2 separate regions of the Homo sapiens genome follow, and region 2 is linked to region 1. The links are contacts of gene promoters, found by promoter capture Hi-C in blood cells and fetal thymus (Javierre and others, 2016). All regions are on one chromosome and are shown on one strand. Each heading gives the region's core, a stretch centred on a gene start or on the middle of the fragment in contact. The rest is flanking DNA. Distances are from core to core; before and after follow the strand shown.

Region 1 (2,700 bases), core at 48-2,547:
CTGGATACTTATTGAGGAATCTGGACAGAAAGGTTGAGAGGGCTGGGCGTCCAGACCTAGCTGGTCATTAAGGCAACAAGAACTGGTCTAATTGTGGGCTGGGCTGGATTATCACATCCCAAATCCTTAAATACCCAGAAACTCTCTTTTGGGATTTTGGACCTGGGTATGGGGTGGCTGCTGCCACTGCTGCAATGCTGTGGATTGCTGGGAGTGGGACAGCTGTGGCTGCAGCCACCGTTCTGCAAGCTTAATTCCTACCTTCGGAGGTTTCTCAGGTGGCCCTGGTGTACCTACCTGTGAACTTAGGCCACCCACAGGCTGAGGAGGGGCTCAATCACACAGCAATGTGCTGGGACCATGACTCCCTGGTGTCCCTAGAGGTCTGGAAGTGCTTTCATACCACCCACCCTCTCCAGGGATGCTCAGCTGCCACCTACAGGGAGGGCGGGGGTGGAAGAGCAGCAGTCATCACAGTCCATGTCCATGTGACAGGTAGGAAGACTGAGGCCCCAAAGGAGTGCCTTTTCTTGCACCCAATGGCATAGGGAGGCAGAATTTCCCCTGGGGAAAATAAAATAACGCCCCCACTCCGCCGCCTGCGCCCCCACACACCCCGTCCCCCACGCCCGGGTGGACCTAAGCAGCAGTTTTCTGAGCTTTCAGGAATTCCAGACTGAGTTCACTGGCTGTGAGACTAGCGGAGCCTTGAGAATGAATTCAAAGCTGGCAAATTCATTTTGCCTCCTCTCCCTCGGTGGTGGAAGGAGTGATCTCTCCGGCTCTGAAGGAGTTCAAGCCGAGGTCAGCGAAGCCCTCAGAAGGATGTTCTAAAATGGGGGTGGGGGGTAGTGCTCCGGCCTGCTTCCCCGGTTGGCCCAAGGTCCGCGCTGATCACCGCCCAAGAGGCCCAGGAGACCCGCAAATCTGTGCTGCACGTCCGCACTCCCATGCGGGCCTCGTCAATCAGGAGGCGGCTCCGGCCAGGCCTGGACATCTTCGGCCCGCCCCAGGCCCCGGGGGAGACCCCCGCCTGGGCCGCCTCCGGGTGCCCGCCCCCCGGCGGTGTCATTGTTCTCTGACGTCACGCCTCAGCCCCGCCCCTCTCCCCCCACCCTTCCTCCCCCACCTCCGGCTCCCCGCGCCCCCGACCCTGCAGCCTCCGAAGCCCCGGCCGTGCAAGGCTCCCCCCGCAGCCCGGCCGGGGCTGCGCCCCCTTGCGCTCTCCCCAACTTGCCTTTGTTATTCCAGCTCCCTTCCTCGCCTCGCCTCCGACACGGTGGCAGCCTGCAAAACGTGGAGCGCGGAGTCACTGCCACACCTGGAATCCGAAGCGGGCTCCGCCGGCTCCCGGCCGAAGCCGCCCCCGCCTGCCGGGGAGGGGAGCGCGTGCGTGGGCGGCGCGTGTGTGTCCAAAGAGGGCTGCGCGGGCGCCAATTATGATTGGGACTGGGGGTGCCGAAAATCAGGGGTGGGGGGCCTCGAGGAAGGGGTATGGAAGAGGAAGTGGGAGAGGAGGGCGTGTGTTTGTGTGTGTACGTTAACGTGAGGATTTAGTGCCCAGGGGAACGTTTCGTGTTTTGTTTTTTGATTGTATGTGGGGTTGTGTACAGCGATGTGTGTGTGTAACTGCGTGTCTCTGAGCGTGCCTGCTGTGGCCGTGTAAGCGGGCATCTTTGTGAGGGAAAGTAAGCGAGTGTGTGGGGGCGCGTTTGTGGTTTGGGGGGGAGCGTGTTTGCAATGCTGAGGGAGCGAACGTGTGTGCCGTTCTTGTAGGAGTTTCCGTGAGAGTGGCAGTGGACGTGAGCCAAAGTGGGCGCGTAGTTGGATGCTCTCGGGGGGGGGGGGTGGGTCGGCTAGGGGAACTCCCGCGAGTGGGTGCACCCAACTGCGCCTCGTGAGTACCTTAGCTCTCCGCTATCTCTGGCAGTGCCCAGTCCGGGGCAGAGGGCCAGGCCCCAGCCTAGCAGCTCCCACGCAGCCCGCGCGCACAGCGCCCCGGGCGCTCCGCGCCGGGCCTAGGGGAATCCACGCGTCTCTGGACTGTGCTAGGTGCCGCGGATCAACTGTGGCCACCACACCCCCGCTCCCCCACAGCTGTCGGGGGGCCGCGCTCTAGTCTCCCTCAAAGTCACCCTTGGTGGTGGTGGTCCTCTTCCCACCCCAACCACCAGTCCCCGGGCTGTAGGAACAATTCCAAAGTCAACCCCAGGGGAAGGCTTTGGAGGTCCAGTTACCAACTCGCTTACCCCAATTCGGGTACCTGACAGCGCCCGGGGCCACGAGTGCACTCCAGGCGGGGGCGTGCCAGCGCGGGGCAGGGGCTCTCGGGTGAGCAGTGTGATTTTGGCTTCCTCCCCAAGGTGGTCCCTACCTAGGCTCAGCATTTGTTCCCCTCTCCAAACTTACTGGGGCTGGGGCCTGCAGGGGGGCTGGGGGCTGCAGGGGGCGTCAGGGAGTAGCGGAGGGAGTAGGGCAAGGAGAGAGGTGAGTGGACTGGTGGCGTAGCGGGGAACCAGGAGCCAGGAGAAGAAAAGCTGGGAGAGCGCCGAGACCGAGGAGCGAGGAAGAGAGGAAGAGAAAGGAAAGGAAAGGCGAGGGAGAGAACGAGGAGAGGCGAAAAGGAAAGGGGAAAGAGAGCGCAGAGCGCGAGCCAAGCCGAGCGCCGGCAGCGGCGGCGGCGCGGCGCGGCGCTCCACT
Region 2 (2,700 bases), core at 164-2,663, 410 kb before region 1:
GTCTTTCATTTAATTCTTATAAAAAGGCAAGCAGCTACATCCCCCACAGAGCAGATGAGGTATCAGACAGGAGGAAGTGTGACTTGTCCAAGGTCACAGGAGGAGCAACTTTAGAAGCCGGACCCACAAGCTCCAGTCTGTTATGGCTCCGCCCACAGTGCTGCCGAAGCTGTCACCTGCGTGAGTACCAGAGAGTAAGAAGCGAAGAATCTTGTTATTTATGCTCATGTTGCATAAAATGTTATGCTCAGATAGAGTCAGTTTACCTTTGTTTTTGTTTTTAAAATCTGCACAACTGATTTGCATAACTGTCAGGGCCATGGCCTGGCACCTGTTCCCCTGTGTGTACAACAGAAAGGAGACTTTTGCCTACAGTCGAGCATGTTTTACTTCCTTTCTCATTAGTTGCAGAAAGAGAGAGGACTGTGCCCAGCTTGGACTCCAGTTCAAATCCCACTAAAACATGCTGAATCCTCTGTTTGGCATAAAACACGCTGAATCCTCTGTTTGGCATAAAACACCCAACTCAGATTGTTGACATATATTCTCTTTTCAACAAACTGCATCTTCTCAAATAAGTGAGAAGACAAAAATCCATCGAGTTTCCTGGTTTCCAGAGGTAAGAGAATTCAAGAGCAAACACTTCAGCATGCTGGAGCTTAAGTTTCCAAGAAAAGAAATGAGGAGTTGCTGATTTGGAGAAAAGGCCCCAGGCTAGACATGACTAGCTTACCTGGGGTTGCAATTGCTTCTAGCTCATGTGGTAACCTTTCACAAGTCACTTCCCCTTGTAGAGTCTATTTCTACTTTTCTAAAACATAAGGGAGCCCAAACTTTGAAATGTTGTAATTCTGAAGCTTAGGTTCCTATAAAGGATGATAAACTCCAGAGTATTTGTATTTAATGAAGTTTAACACCAGGTTATAAAATAGAGCTTCCTGGGAGAATGAGCCATCATCTAAACCAGCAGAATTGAACAGAGTGTTTTACTTTGCATTAATATGTTCCCTTAGGGACAAGGACAAAACCCAACATTGTAAAAAATGTCTTGAATATTTGCATATTGCATATAGAATATTTGCATGCAGTATTTATGTAAAGCATGATGCTTATTTTTCAGGGTGGGAAGGGGGAAATCTAGTAACTTGCTCAGTATCAGGTGCTTTTCATACAGCATTGAATCTTCAGCAACCCAAAGATGCATGGTATTCATTGAACCTCTAGAGAAACTGAAGGCCAGAGTAGGGACTTACCCATAGTTACCTGGTAAAATGCAGGGATATCCTTATTCCTTTACAGCACTTTTCTCTCCTACAACTTAACAACATTCACAGTGTAAGAGATATGCCTGGAATAATGTAAAAGAAATGAATTTAGCTCAGTGGGTTTTTATTCATATTCCTCTCTAGGTGGAAGTTTAGACAAGGTGGCCTCTAAGATCCATTTCACCTTTTTCTTTTTTTTTTTCTTTTTTTGAGATGGAGTCTCGTTCTGTCACCCAGGCTGGAATGCAGTGGCACGATCTTGGCTCACTGCAACCTCCGCCTCCCGGGTTCAAGCGATTATCCTGCCTCAGCCTCCCTGAGTAGCTGGGATTGCAGGTGTGTACCTCCATGCCCAGCCAATTTTTGTATTTTTAGTGGAGATGGGGTTTCAGCCTGTTGGCCAGGCTGGTCTCGAACTCCTGACCTCGTGATCCACCTGCCTCAGCCTCCCAAAGTGCTGGGATTACAGGCGTGAGCCACCATGCCTGGCCCAATCCATTTGACTTTTAAACCCTAACTTTCAGTTACTCATTTAAACAGTATTTACCAAGATGAATTCTGAAACATAACACACCCAAGAAATATTCCAGGGAAAGCATGTTTTGTGGTCAAATATGTTTGGAAAATATTGCAAGTTGTATCCTCAATTAGAGACTTACAGTGCACATTACAAAATATCAAAGGCTCTGATAAGGCCTACAACAAAAGCTTGCATAACTGTTTGATCCATTTGCCAAAATTATTGCATTCTGAACCCACATAACACTTATGAACATTTAATGAAATGACTTTGCTATTTAACACACTTGGAAAGCATTAGAATAATTGTAAAGTTTATGAATCTGCATCTCCCTCGTGTCTTGCCTTCTATCCTCTCTGCGAGCAGAGAAACAGTGGCCCTCAGGAAGGGTCATGGGCAGGGAGAGAGGATGAGGGGAGAGAGTCCATTTAAGGTTAACCAGGGCTCGTGTCCAGCTTCTGCTTGGAAGACCGACTCACCCGCTGCTCTTAAAATGCTGGGAGAGTCCACTCATGAAAAGCAAGAACCTGGATCAACTCTGATTTCCTCCATGAGAAATAGTCATTGCTCCAGCAGTCTCGGAAACTTTGATACGATAAATATTTTGATGCTTTCTGTATATTTATATAAGCCCATTTATTGATGAAAACAAAATGTGTCACATTTCTGTTTTGATCAGCCCTTTTAAGGAATTTCCCCACTCCTTTCCATTCTAAGCTGGAAACACCCAAATCTATACACAATAGAGTCTCACTGGACATGTCATTTATGGAAGTTGTTCCCTTGACTTGACTTAGTTAATTCCAGTGCATCCTTTATATCACAGCTTATATGTCACTTCCTCCTGGACTGGTTCCCTGCCTGCAGACTAGATTTAGTCTGCTTTTTCTGCTTCTAGGACAGCCTGGGATAGTC

The links. Contacts are between HindIII fragments. The CHiCAGO score rates a contact against its expected background, and 5 or more counts as called.
Region 2: a contact is called between a fragment that was not itself captured here and the fragment with the promoter of ZMIZ1-AS1 in region 1, in 2 of 17 cell types (M2 macrophages and endothelial precursors). The highest score is 8.2, in M2 macrophages.

The regions. Positions count from the first base shown.
Region 1 is chr10:79,066,151-79,068,850 of GRCh38, forward strand. ZMIZ1-AS1 (ZMIZ1 antisense RNA 1) reads right to left here and starts at 1,298. Exons shown (of 10, transcript NR_024431.2): 1 at 1,238-1,298; 2 at 298-436. RefSeq lists silencers at 857-1,066, 1,107-1,156, 1,257-1,466, 2,267-2,336, 2,597-2,700, an enhancer at 1,730-2,575 and a cis regulatory region at 2,449-2,700. The HindIII fragment of the contact is 3,772 bases long and covers 248-2,700 here.
Region 2 is chr10:78,658,685-78,661,384 of GRCh38, forward strand. LOC105378379 (a long non-coding RNA gene) reads right to left here. Exons shown (of 5, transcript XR_946100.2): 3 at 1,264-1,348. Among named protein-coding and RNA genes, the nearest start is that of LINC00595, 390 kb to the left of the region's middle. The HindIII fragment of the contact is 1,116 bases long and covers 856-1,971 here.